Linked DNA regions of Homo sapiens: region 1 is linked to region 2. The links are contacts of gene promoters, found by promoter capture Hi-C in blood cells and fetal thymus (Javierre and others, 2016). All regions are on one chromosome and are shown on one strand. The core of a region is centred on a gene start or on the middle of the fragment in contact, and the rest is flanking DNA. Distances in the headings are between cores, read along the strand shown. Region 1 has its middle 29 kb from the start of LINC01372. Region 2 holds the start of GPC2 (glypican 2).

Region 1 (6,928 bases), core at 2,538-5,037, about 33 Mb after region 2:
TGAGGGCTAGAGAAATAGCCAAATGATATGGTCAGACATGGTGAGTCCTGCCAACCTCATAGGAGGGGTCTCAGACACTAACAGAAAGTAAGGAGAAAAACAGTAGTGTTACTCTTATGACAGACCCAGCTGATTAAAGATTTCATCAGTGTCAAAGATTTTGCTATGGCTTATGCCCTCCAGTGGTCATCTTTAAGTTTAAAAGGAAACAAAACTACTATGTGCCAAGTGAGGCAATTTACTCATCATCTCATTTATTCTTCACAAAAAGGTGAGATTATCCCTTTCTTTAAAGAAAAGAAAACTGAAGAGAGGTTACATAAGGCTATGGAGCTAGTGACTAAATGGAACAGAATTTAAAGCCAGGAGTTCACTGGAAGGCCTGTGCTCTTTCCATTCCTTGAAAATTTGGCCTCCCTTGTCAATGGTTGGCTTTTAGTACTCCTGCGGTCACTTGCACACTGCACACTTGACGAGTAGGTCAAAACTTAATTCCTTGCATGACAGGCAGGTACAGCACTTAAACTCTTCTGACAATAAGTGCTGACAAAGAAAAACTGAGCAAAAGTGGAATTCGAGAGAACTCTAAATTACACATTATTTGTTGAGCCCACAACCCAGAAAAAAGGTGAGCATTGCAATGAGCCCTTACAGGATGGGTCTATGAAACTATTGCCAGACTCCGTTATTCATGATCTTGAAAGACTGCCCAGGGCCTGATAAGGGGGTCTGTGGCAGAAGTGGGTGCAAGTTGGGAAAAAGGGAAGGAAGAAGCAGGGAACACTCCTCACCTCTTTGTGTTTCTCCAACAGGCTCTCCAGCCGCTCAGGTGCCCTCTGCCCTGGCCCCTTGTTTCTTTCAGCCTCATACTGACGCTGATTGATATCTTCGTGCAGACTCAGTTGGAGGGCAACTCTTACCAGGGAGGTCATCAGTTTCATAGCTTTGAGTAAGGAAAAAGAGATAAAGAAATCATTACTGAGGTCAGAGGAGAGAGGATGAGTAGAAGGAAAAATAGAAGGAAAGAAGGGCAATAAAAATGAGAAGCCAGAGGTAGGTGACCCTAAAATCCTGACTGCCTGTCCTGGAGTGGACTGTTTCCCTCTAACCCTTGTGGTCTTCTTTTAACCATCAGCATACCCTAGTGGTGAGCTCTGACAAAAATACTAAGCCTGGAAATTGTTGCTGTGATCTACCCCTTCTCAAAACTCCACCAGTGAGAAACTGGATTGAAGTTTAGGATAAAAGAGGCATGGCCTTGAAGTGAAGAGCCAAGACACAGGTAGGAAAGAAGACCCTGAATCAGAGAACAGAGGAAAGTCCTATAAATCCCCAGAAGAATGTCCGGAATGAAAATGAATGCTCACCAGCCAGGGTGCTAGTGTGACAGAAGGCGCAGACTTGTGAGTCTGAGAAGCCAGTGAGCAGGGAGATGAGGTTGTCCATAGGGAAGTCATCATGGAGGAGGATGTACTGGCACCGACAGACCAATGTCCCCACAAACTCACAGAAGCTGCCCTGGAACTTCTTCCAGGATAGACCTGGAGCTGTCAGAGGATAGTCCCCCGAGTCCTACAAAAGGATGTATGAAAAGGATGGGAAAGTTATGACCAGGTATATGAAGTCATAGGGGCTTGGATGTCAAAACCCAACAGTCTAGTAAAAATATCTGTTATGCTTCATTTCCTAGCTGTCTCCCCAGTTTGAGAGGCATATTCAGATCTCTTTTACCCCCAAGAGACTGAACTCCACCTTCTAAAAGCTACCCTATTTCACAGAATCAAAAAGAAGGGGATAATAGGCATTGTGTTTTGAAATAAGAGGGGTAAGAGGATCCTGGTCATCTTCTTCCACCTCATTAAACGCTCTGTTAGGTGCTGGATGATCTCTGAGTTGGACATCTTCTTGAACATCTCAGGGCTCACAGTGCCTAAAGAATGAAGGATATGAGGTGCTTACGAGGAAAATAACAGGATGCTGTGATCATTTACAGATATACCTGAATATGAGCAAGGAAACACTGTGCAAAGAGCTTAGGTGGGGAATCAAAAGACCCCCTGGTCAACGGTCTGCCAACATCCAACTGTGTATCTGCTATAAGGCAATCTCTCTAAAAACCCAAAGGAAGGGAGCCATAGGTTATGGTGTAGACACGGCCAAATCCAAAAACCACACCTCACACAACCAGGCTGAAAATTACACAGAAATGGCATCAAGAAACCCCAATCACAAAGATACAACTCTCTTAAGGGGATGGACCCCAAGTTCCTGAGGAATATGTGCTTTGCCAAGAAGCACAACAAGAAGGGCCTAAAGAAGATGCAGGCTGGCCGGGCGCAGTCGGTCAAGCCTGTAATCCCAGCACTTTGGGAGGCCGAGGCAGGAGAATCACAAGGTCAGGAATTCTAGACCAGCCTGGCCAACATGATGAAACCCAGTTCTCTACTAAAAATGGAAAAAATGAGCTGGGCGTAGTGGCGGGTGCCTGTAATCCCAGCTACTCGGGAGGCTGAGGCAGGAGAATTGCTTCAACCCGGGAGGCAGAGGTTGCAGTGAGCTGAGATCGCACTACTGCACTCCAGCCTGGGCAACAAGTGAGACTCTGTCTCAAAACAAAAAAAGCAAAACAAAAAAAAAAAGAAGATGCAGGGCAACAATGCCAGGGTCATGGGTGTACATGCCGAGGCTATCGAGCCCCTCGTAAAGCCCAAGGACGTTAAGCCCACTTGCCTACACTGCCCACCCCAAGCTTGAGAAGCATGCTTGTGCCCACAATGCCAAGGGGCTCAGACTGTACCAGCCAAAGGCCAAGGATCAAATGAAGGCCCAGGCTGCAGCTCCAGCTTCAGTTCCAGCTCAGGCTCCCAAAGGTGCCCAGGCCTGTACAAAGGCTTCAGAGTAGAGATCTCTGTCTGCCAACGTGAGGACAGAAGGACTGGTGTCCTCCTGCACTATTTGTACAAATAAACCTGAGGCAGGATTTGTTTAAAAAAAAAAAAGGAATCAAGCAGTGAAAAACTGTGCCCCAAAATAAACAACAACAAAACAACAACAACAACAAAACAGGCCAGGCGCGATGGCTAACGCCTGTAATCCCAACACTTTGGGAGGCCGAGGCAGGTGAATCACCTGAGGTCAGGAGTACAAGACCAGCCTGGCGAAACCCCATCTCTACTAAAAATACAAAAATTAGCCACGTAGGCCGGGCGCAGTGGCTCAAGCCTGTAATCCCAGCACTTTGGGAGGGTGAGATGGGCGGATCACGAGGTCAGGAGTTCAAGACCAGCCTGGCCAATATGGTGAAACCCTGTCTCTACTAAAAATACAAAAATTAGCTAGGCATGGTGGTGCACACCTGTAGTCCCAGCTACTCAGGAGGCTGTGGCAGAAGAATCACTTGAACCTGGGATGCGGAGGTTGCGGTGAGCCGAGATTGTGCCACTGGACTCCAGCCTGGGCGACAGAGCCAGACTCCGTCTCAAAGAAAAAAAAAAAAATTAGCCACATATGGTGGCACATGCTTGTAATCCCAGCCACTTGAGAGGCTGAGGCATGAGAATCACTTAAACCCAGGATGTAGAGGTTGCAGTGAGCCCAGATCGTGCCACTGCACTCCAGCCTGGACAATCGAGTGAGATTCTGTCTCAAAAACAAAAACAAAAACAAAACAAAACAAAACAAAAGAGAGTAATAAAACTAAGCCAGACGCTGATTTCTTATATAATACAACCTGACTGAGACCATCTGTCCCAATAAATCAAGCCATGGCAGTAAGAGTTCTGGGGGTACCACAGCTACAGAGGAGAAATATGGGCAAAGTAGCTGGGAAATAAAGAGTAAGAAAATAACAGATTATTGCATCTAGAAAGACTAAAAGGTGTCCTCAAATTTGTGCCATAACATAAGCATGATTACTTCTTTTTCCCCAAAGTTTCTTGTCTCTAAACCAACATGGTTCCCTACTGGATCACTTCCCGTATTTATCAACAAAAAATTTAGTTAAAGAAGTGAAACTTTTCTCTCTCTTTTTTTTTTTTTTGAAGACAGTCTGGCTCTGTCGCCCAGGTTGGAGTGCAGTGGCGCTATCCAGGCTCACTATAACCTCCACCTCCTGGGTTCAAGCAATTCTACAGGCATGAGCCACATACCCAGATAATTTTTTGTATTTTAGTAGGGGTTTCACCATGTTGCCCAGGCTGGTCTTCAACTCCTGACCTCAAGTGATCCACCCGCCTCAGCTTCCCAAAGTGCTGGGATTACAGGTGTGAGTCACAGTGCCCAGCCTAAATAAGTAAAATTTTTCTAATGCTTTACTATCTTCCTTTATTTAGGAAATATCTAATCCTACTTATCTAAATGGAGAAAGAATTCATAACATAGGAACAAAAGGCTGGGAATTAGAAAGGGGGAGCAGTTTCCTCACCTTTACATCCACAAGATCAGATGAAAAAGTTAACAAGCTCCAGAAATCCTGCATCCTGGTCTTGCTTGTAGCTATCCAGCCACTCATCTACCAAAGACTAGTAAAAAAAAAATACAGATGACTTCTACTTCTGGCAATATAACAGAACAGAAATCCTATATGATCTTCCCAGTTGAACCATCTAAACTTCTGTAAAACATTTAAAACATCTTTCACAATGTACTGGTGAACTAGAATGAAAGGTAAAATTTCATATAGTCCAAAAATGAGGTGTAGTAGCAACCCTGGGAGGTAAGCAAACTGACTTTTGCCCTAAAGGTTTCATTAATCCCTGGGGACCCTGACTTTGTATCCAGATGGCTGCATGGAGTGCAGAGCACAGGAGGTAGAGTCTAAGCTTCTTCCAAGACGAGTAGTCCAAGAGGAGGCACCTAAATAAAGCTGGGTCCTGCAAAGAGTCACATCCTCAAGGAAGTGAGATTGAACACTAAACCTATAGGGCAGATGGCGACAGCAAGAAAACTAGCTTGTTATGACCTGAGGGTGCAGTGGAGGGGAAAAAAAATAACTCCTCCTTGAGAATTCATAACCATAGTGAGCGCTCAGATCTGGATTTGCAGTCAAGATTCATACCACATACATGATCAGAATAATCTTTTTTATCTTTTCCTTTTGTTTTTTTTTTTTTTTGAGACAGTCTCACTCTGTAGCCCAAGCTAGAGCGCAATGGCGAGATCTCAGCTCACTACAACCTCCACCTCCCAGGTTCAAGCATTCTCCTGCTTCAGCCTCCCGAGTAGCTGGGATTACAGGTATGTGCCACCACGCCTGGCTAATGGCTAATTTTTGTATTTTTAGTAGACACAGGGTTTCACCATATTGGCCAGGCTGGTCTCGAACTCCTGACCTCAAGTGAGGCCCACCTTAGCCTCCCAAAGTGCTTGGATTATAGGCATGAGCCACCACACCCAGCCCAGAATAATCATTCAGATAATTAAAAGTGATTCAGGCTGGGAGCAGTAACCCAAGTAAAGTGAAACTCATGTTGCCCAGGCTGGTCTACCAAAAACAGAATAATTAGTCAGGCATGGTGGCACATGCCTATAGTCCCAGCTATGCGAGAAGCTGAGGTGGGAGGGTCACCACCTTGCCACTGAGGGAGGTCAAATCAGCAGGGAGCCGTGATAGCACCACTGCACTCCAGCCTAGAAAGAATGAGAACCTGTCTCAAAAAAAAAAAAAAAAGAAAAGAAAAGTGATTCTGGAGTGTCCCCAGGCAACTGTCAAAGCAACAGCACGTTCCTCTCTTGAAAACCCACCTTTGGGGCCAGGCGCGGTGGCTCACACCTGTAATCCCAGCACTTTGGGAGGCCGAGGCAGGCGGATCATGAGGTCAGGAGATCGAGACCATCCTGGCTAACATGGTGAAACCCCATCTCTACTAAAAATACAAAAATTTAGCCAGCATGGTTGCAGGTGCCTGTAGTCCCAGCTATTCGGGAGGCTGAGGCAGGAGAATGGCCTGAACCCGGGAGGCGGAGCTTGCAGTGAGCAGAGATCACACCACTGCACTCCAGCCTGGGTGACAGAGCGAGACTCGGTCTCAAAAAAAAAAAAACCCACCTTTGACCTAGGCCCCAAAGAACTCCAGGGAAAATGAGTGGCTCACAATAAACCTAGTAAAACATATAAAGAAACAAGGCACTGACAAAATTATTTCACAAACACTTTAGATAATCATCTATCATAGATTATAAAATGACTATGTTTAATAAAATTTTAAAAATAAAACAGGGAGAGAATGGGCTCAAAAAAAGAAATAAAAGGCCAGGCATGGTGGCTCGCACCTGTAATCCCAGCACTTTGGAAGGCTGAGGCGGGTGGATCATGAGGTCAAGAGATCAAGACCATCCTGGCCAAAATGGTGAAACCCCGTCTCTGCTAAAAATACAAAAATTAGTTGGGTGTGGTGGCGTGCACCTGTAATCCAAGCTACTCAGGAGGCTGAGATGGGAGAACTGCTTGAACCCGGGAGGCAGAGGTTGCAGTGAGCCGAGCTCACACCACTGCACTCCAGCCTGGGTGACACAGTGAAACTCCGTCTGAAAAAAACAACAAAAAAAAAAACAAATAAAAACCCAGACTATATTGTTTAGGGATACTTAGGTGACAAAATAATAGACACAAATAGAACATAATTACCATAAAAATCAGGACCTTGAGGGGGTTGGGGGGAAGGTTTAAGTGGAAAGAATGGAGCGGTGACAATGTGTGTCAACCTGGGAGGTGGTGACCCTGGAGTTCGCTTTGTAATTCCTCAAAATGAGCATTTATGTGCTATTCACTTTTCACAGGGCAGAATCTCTGAACTAACATGTTTAAGCAGCCATATAAAAAAAAAATTATTCTCAAAATGTCTCAAAAAAACAAAAATGTTATATATATACGTATAAAAGAAATATATACACATACGTATATATCTATACATATACGTGTGTATATATA
Region 2 (6,872 bases), core at 4,017-6,516:
ATTATCACACAAGTAGGCTTAAGCTGCCAATTCCACAGCAGAGTCTGAGTTAGACTCAGTCCTGAAATAATTGATTTTTATATTGTTATGAAGTTTATTTTTTTCCCTTAAAAAAAAAGTCCTTGAGTCCCCTTCCTGTATCTCTACATCCTAACGTCCTTTTCTCTTCTTTTCTCTTCAAAATTTCTCTTCTTCCTATTTCCATCCCTTAATACTTTGTAAATCTTGTCCTTTTATGAACCGTATCACCTGAACCTCTTTTAGGTTTTCTTTTCTTTTTTTTTTTTTGAGACGGAGTCTCGCTCTGTCGCCCAGGCTAGAGTGCAGGGGCGCAATCTCGGCTCACTGCAAGCTCTGCCCCCTGGGTTCACGCCATTCTCCTGCCTCAGCCTCCCAAGTAGCTGGGCTGCTTCCCCCACAAGATTCAAAAACAAAAGAAAACTGGCTGACTCACCGGTGTTGTTTTCGGTGGTCGTTTTGCTGCTCTCTTCTTCACATTGCGATTCAAGCTGTCTTCAAAGTCAGTGTCTTCATCAGCTAACAAAGAGTCGCCATTCCTGTGAGAAAGTATGGTTCTCTTTAAATATAACCACCCTATTCCCTCCATATAAAAGGCTAATTAATTATGGTTTCTCTGTCTCTCACCGCACCCCATCTCCATGAGAAAAACATATCCAGATTTTAAGAAAAAATGAGCTTATTGTTAGTAGGAAGTTGGGACAAAGTCTTTTTTTTTTTTTTTTTTGAGACGGAGTTTCACCCTTGTCACCCAGGCTGGAGTGCAATCGCATGATCTCAGCTCACTGCAACCTCCGCCTCCCAGGTTCAAGCGATTCTCCTACCTCAGCCTCCCGAGTAGCTGGGATTACAGGTGTTTCACCGTGTTGGCCAAGGTGGTCTCAAACTCCTGACTTCAGGTGATCCACCCGCCTCGGCCTCCCAAAGTGTTGGGATTATAGGCATGAGCCACCACACCCGGCCGGGACAAAGCCTTAAAGGAAAACTTTCACATGAAAGCAATGGAGATGAAGAATGAGGAAATGAGGCAGGAGAAGGACAACTCTTCCTAGTATTCTCTCCGAAGAAGAGAATCAAATGATACTCACTTAGCAGGTAGCGAGATCACTGCTCTTTGTAGAGAAAGATAATCATGGCTCAGGAAGTCATCTATCATTCATCCATAAATGGGAGAGTAATATGTATCTAGAGTTAAATTTCACCCCCTTGAAACATAAACCACATGTCTTATCAATTCAAGTTTATAACTTTGATATAATCTGGTCCCCCACAGCAGCACTGACAGAAACAGAAATGATTCAGAGAAAGCCAATTAAAACAGCCAGGGGATAAAGCAGATCTGTATGAAATTCGCTTTTTTCCTTCTGGAAAGGTAAAAAACCAAGATATATTATTATAACCTACACAGAATAAACTCATATATGGTAATAAATAAGGATACACAGACCTATTTACAAAATCCCCAAGTAGAAGAAATAGGGGACACTAGCCAAAAAGTATATACAATTTACCAGGCAACAAATAAAGAACTCTTTACTCCCCCATCTGCCAGCTCTCAGCCCCCACCAGGGTTGGTACATGCTGAACATAGAAATGTGTTTAAGAGAGGTTTAGACAAGATGGATGATGGATTAAAAACAGGATGTGCTTGAACCCAGGAGGCGGAGGTTGCAGTAAGCCGAGATCGCGCCACTGCACTCCAGCCTGGGCGACAGGGCGAGACTCCGTCTCAAAAAAAAAAAAAAAAACAGGATGTACTACTATTTTGATGTCTACAACATCTAGGACCGCCAAAAAAAACACCTGGAGCTGGAGGGAGGGTGTCACTGTGCTGAACGAGTATAGCACTTCTGGTGTTTTCACACAGTCCCACGCATATTATCATCAATGTGGGAAAACGAGGGGGAAGGCTGCCAGGGACACAGGAAGTGGCCACACAATGCAACATCTACTTACCCCTCTGAGGTATGGTTTGAGTCCCTGTCATCAAAGGGTAGACTGGCAGAGGAACTAGAAGATGCAGACAAGGCCCTCTTGGTATCTCCCACAGCTCTTTGCAACGGGGAAGACATGCTTGGAGAGGAGGAGCTATGAGGCCAGGAAGATGAGGACCACAGGGTAGGTATGGCGATCCAGCTGGGGAAGAAAGAGAAGAAAGGGCTCCTACCACAGCACTTCTCCATCCCCAGCCCTGACCAGTCCCTTTCTTTCCAAGGGAATGGTTCTAGAACTCTGGGGTCAGGTGAGGGGGACCAAAAACTAAGACAAAGGCTGGGCACCGTGGCTCATGCCTATAATCCCAGCACTTTGGGAGGCCAAGGCAGGAGGATGGCTTGAGCCCAGGAGTTCAAGACCAGCCTGGGCAATACAGCAAGACCCCATTTCTAAAAAAAAAATAATAATAATCATTAGTCAGGTGTGGTAGAGCATGCCTGTATTCAGCTATTCAGGAGGCTGAGGTGGGAGGATTGCTTGAGTCCAGGAGTTCAAGGCTGCAGTGAGCTACGATCGCACCACTGTACTCCATCCAGCTTGGGTGACAGAAGAAGACCCTGTCCCCCCTCAAAAAAATAGTAATGATAAATAAGACAAATGGCTGGGCACAGTGACTCATGCCTGTAATCCCAGCACTTTGGGAGGTCGAGGCAGGCAGATCACCTGAGGTCAGGGGTTCGAGACCAGCCTGACCAACATGGAGAAACCCCATTTCTACTAAAAATACAAAATTATCCGGGTGTGGTGGCATATGCCTGTAATTCCAGCTACTTGGGAGGCTGAGGCAGGAGAATCGCTTGAACCTAGAAGGCGGAGGTTGTGGTGAGCTGAGATCGTGCCACTGCACTCCAGCCTGGGCAACAAGAGTGAAACTCCATCTCAAAATAAATAAATAAATAAGACAAAGAGCTGACCTAAGGCATCAAGGGATTAAGCACAACAACACCCCAGAAACTGGCCAGCAGGTTTGGAGTTGCTCTCCAAAAGCTGAGGAAGTCACACACCAGGGTAGCTTCAGACACATCTCTCTCTAGAGGCTGTGGAAGTGCAAACTGCCTACTGCAAGGAAATTTAACTCATAGGTATTTTCTTTAAAAAAAAAAATTGCACACTGGGTGTGGTAGATCATACTTGTAATCCCAGAACTTTAGGCGGCTGAGGCGGGAGGACTGCTTGAGCCCAGTAGTTCAAGACCAATCTGGGCAACATAGCAAGACCCCATCTCTACAAAAAATAAGCAAAAACTAGCTAGGTGTTGTTGCGCACACCTGTGGTCCCAGCTACTCAGGAGGCTGAGACAGGAGGACTGCTTGAGCCCAGCAGTTTGAGACCAGCCTTGGCAACATGAGACACACCCAAAAAAAAAAAAACAAAACCCAAGCAAGGTACACACCAGGGCAGCTTCAGACACAGCCCTCTCTAGAGGCTTCAGAAGTGTAAACTGCCTGCTGCAAGGGAATTTAACTCATAATTAAAAAAAAAAAAAAAAAGGCAAGGTGCCCAGGGTGGCTCAAACCTGGAATCCCAGCACTTTGAGCAGCTGAAGCAGGAGGACTGCCTAACCCTACGAGTTCAAAATCAGTCTGGGCAATATAGCAAGATCCTGTCTCTACGAAAAAACCAAACCAAAACCAAAAAAACTAGCCAGGTGTGGTGGTGCACCTGTAGTCCCAGCTACTCGGCAGAATGAAGCGGGACGATCGCCTGAGCCCAGGAGGTCGAGGCTGCAGCGAGCTATGACTGCACCACTGCACTCCAGCCTGGGAAACAGAGCGAGACTCTGTCTCAAAAAAAAAAAAAAGTAATGACAAATAAATAAAATAAGGCAAAGAGTGGACCTAAAGCACCAAGGGATTACAGACACCAGAAACTGGGCAGTGGGTTTGGAATTGCTCTCCAAAAGCCGAGGCGTGGTGCACAGTGCTCCCGCCTATAATCCCAGTACTTTGGGAGGGCGAAGCGGGAGCATCGCTTGGGTCCAGGAATTCAAGATCAGCCTGGGCCACATAGCAACGCCCTGTCTCTAAAAAAAAAAAATTAAATGGAAAAAAAAAAAAAAGCCAAGCAAGGCAGACAGCAGGGCAGCTTCAGACGCACCCCTCTCTGGAGGCTTCGGAAGTATAAACCGCCCTCTGCAAGGGAACTTACAGGTTTTTTAAAATGAAATAAAAAAAATAAAGAAAGAAATAAGAAAAAAAATACAAGAAGACCCCAGGCTTTCGTTTCCAGAGGACTAGCACCTGATTCCACCTGGAATGGAACAGGAGGCTCTTAAGGATTTGGGGGTGGAGGCGCCATGAGAATAGGGCTGGAAACGCAAAAGGAGGAAAGGCAGGTGCGCGTTTCCTATTTTTCCAGAAGGTAAAAATATCTACGACTGCCCCTGGGGTAAGCGGCTCCAGGATAAAGAGCCTTCCAAGCGCTTAAGAGAATGGACTCTCAGTCTATGGAGGCCTGGGGAGAGGATTCTCCAGCTCTGTGGCGGAGGCCATTGGGGCACGGCCCGGGAAGGCTCCTAGTGTCAGGGCCGGGAGGGTCGCGAGAGGGCCTATTCTTGGGTCAAGGAGAAACCTGTCAGAGCCTGGAAGAGTGACTTCTGGCCGAGCAGGGTTCAGGGAAGGTCCCCACCTCAGGTCCCTCGGGTGTCTCTGGCCACCCCACCTTCCACACAGGCGCCCGCCGCTGCCCTTCCGGGGGCGAAAGATTCCAGAAAAGCGCGGGAACGTACAAGACACGCTGTGCGCAAGCGCAATCCCAACGGCTCGCCCAGGGCCAGTAGCTATCGCGAGGTTTGGAAGTGTGCGAGCTGATGCGCGCCACGTTTGAGTCACGCCGCTCCACAGCCTCGTGTGGCCTCAAGCTCTCAGGCGTCCTGCCCTCTCACGTGGGCTTGGGCACGCGGGCGGCCCGCTTTAGCCCCGCCCCCACCCAGGTCCCACCCCCGCTACCCTCAATCTCCTACTCCATTGGGCGGGTTTTGGACCAGACTGCTAGTAACCCCTTTAATCTGGCTTCTCAATTGCCATAGGCTAGGTTCCACCCAGGCCCCGCCTTTTGAGCCGGATCGCCACGCCCCCGAGGGAGACCACGCCCCTATTTCACCAACCTCCTGAGTGCCAGCCGGGTCCCGCCCCCCTGCCGAGCTTCCGCGCTACATTGGCTTAATTTCTTCCTTGCCCCCGCCCCTGAAGCCGGCTCCGAGCCATTATTGGCGGGGCCCCGCCTCGGGCCCCGCCCCCTGTCCGGCTCCCCGCTCCCATTGTCTCGGCAGATGCCGCCTGGTCCAGCTATCGTGCTCGGTATTCAGTTTTCCGGAGCAGCGCTCTTTCTCTGGCCCGCGGAGCGGTCCCGCGGCCGAGTACCGGATTCCCGAGTTTGGGAGGCTCTGCTTTCCTCCTTAGGACCCACTTTGCCGTCCTGGGGTGGCTGCAGTTATGTCCGCGCTGCGACCTCTCCTGCTTCTGCTGCTGCCTCTGTGTCCCGGTCCTGGTCCCGGACCCGGGAGCGAGGCAAAGGTCACCCGGAGTTGTGCAGAGACCCGGCAGGTGCTGGGGGCCCGGGGATATAGCTTAAACCTAATCCCTCCCGCCCTGATCTCAGGTGAGGAGAAAGAGGAAGACTAGAGAATTGGGGGTGGGGGGCGGGGGCGGGGCCTCCTCATCTCACAATAACTCTCTTCCTTTTCAGAGTGACCGTTATACTAATCTTTTCATCCCACAGTAATGTCTGTTCTCCTCCTGTAACTTCCTTACCGGGATCACAATAACCCTCCTATGCAAAGAATAGCGCTCTTACTCCATCCCCACCCCAGGAATCCCCTCCTCCTAATTAACACCCCCTATGTGTTTCTTTCTTCACAGCCATGTTCTCCTCGCTGTTTCTATTAGCCCCTTCTATGAGAATACTTTATTGCTCACCAAGTAACCCCACCCTTCCAAGCCCCATTCTTCATCCCCTAGAAGCTGTTCTCCAAGTCCCTCGAGGTCTGGGGTGTGGACATTGGGGAGGGTCACCTGAGGACACTCTGACCACTGACTTGGCCCTCAGGGCAGCTGTTAAATAGATGATCCCGTGGCTAATGGGAGTGAACTTGGGATGGGTCAGGAGACAATAAGGTAGGGGATAGGTTCAGGTAGGGAAGAGGGTGCAGACAATAGAAAAGAGACCAGGCAGGTAGAAGAGAAGGCATAGTCCCCAGAGATAGGCGGGAAATGGAAGGGATTTTAGGATATCACTTCCCACCATTCCTTCACGTCTCCTCTGTCCAGGTGAGCACCTCCGGGTCTGTCCCCAGGAGTACACCTGCTGTTCCAGTGAGACAGAGCAGAGGCTGATCAGGGAGACTGAGGCCACCTTCCGAGGCCTGGTGGAGGACAGCGGCTCCTTTCTGGTTCACACACTGGCTGCCAGGCACAGAAAATTTGATGGTGAGGACCTGGGGTCCCCAAACTCAGCTTCACAGCTCCTCTCGGTGCTTAGGACCCCAGCAAGGCTCCTGTCCCCACTCCTTACTCCATCTGTGAAGACTCCATCCCCTCCCAGCCCGCCCACCCCCCAGACTCTGTCTCCAGGGCCCTGCCCTCCCCCATTCCCTGTCTGCCCCATCTCTGAGAGTTACTCAGTTTCTGATTCACTTGTCTTTTCTCTTCTCTCCCATCTCCTCCTGCCTCTGCCTGTTCACTTTTCTCCCCATTCTTTGGCCTGACCTGCCTTCCACCTGTTCCCTGCATTTGCTGCAGAGTTTTTTCTGGAGATGCTCTCAGTAGCCCAGCACTCTCTGACCCAGCTCTTCTCCCACTCCTACGGCCGCCTGTATGCCCAGCACGCCCTCATATTCAATGGCCTGTTCTCTCGGCTGC

What was found. The method cuts DNA at HindIII sites, captures the fragments that hold promoters and counts their contacts. A CHiCAGO score of 5 or more calls a contact.
Region 1: a fragment that was not itself captured here is called in contact with the fragment with the promoter of GPC2 in region 2 in 2 of 17 cell types (endothelial precursors and total CD4 T cells); the score reaches 17.1 in endothelial precursors.

Annotation. Positions count from the first base shown.
Region 1 is chr7:67,303,579-67,310,506 of GRCh38, reverse strand. It overlaps the pseudogene STAG3L4. Among named protein-coding and RNA genes, the nearest start is that of LINC01372, 29 kb to the left of the region's middle. The HindIII fragment of the contact is 2,071 bases long and covers 2,752-4,822 here.
Region 2 is chr7:100,175,775-100,182,646 of GRCh38, reverse strand. It overlaps GPC2 (glypican 2), which reads left to right and starts at 5,266. Exons shown (of 10, transcript NM_152742.3): 1 at 5,266-5,613; 2 at 6,282-6,440; 3 at 6,753-6,872. The coding sequence starts at 5,448. It overlaps STAG3 (STAG3 cohesin complex component), which reads right to left and starts at 4,729. Exons shown (of 34, transcript NM_001282717.2): 1 at 4,642-4,729; 2 at 1,975-2,154; 3 at 455-557. The coding sequence starts at 2,090. RefSeq lists silencers at 4,955-5,004, 5,185-5,304. The HindIII fragment of the contact is 8,320 bases long and covers 1-6,872 here.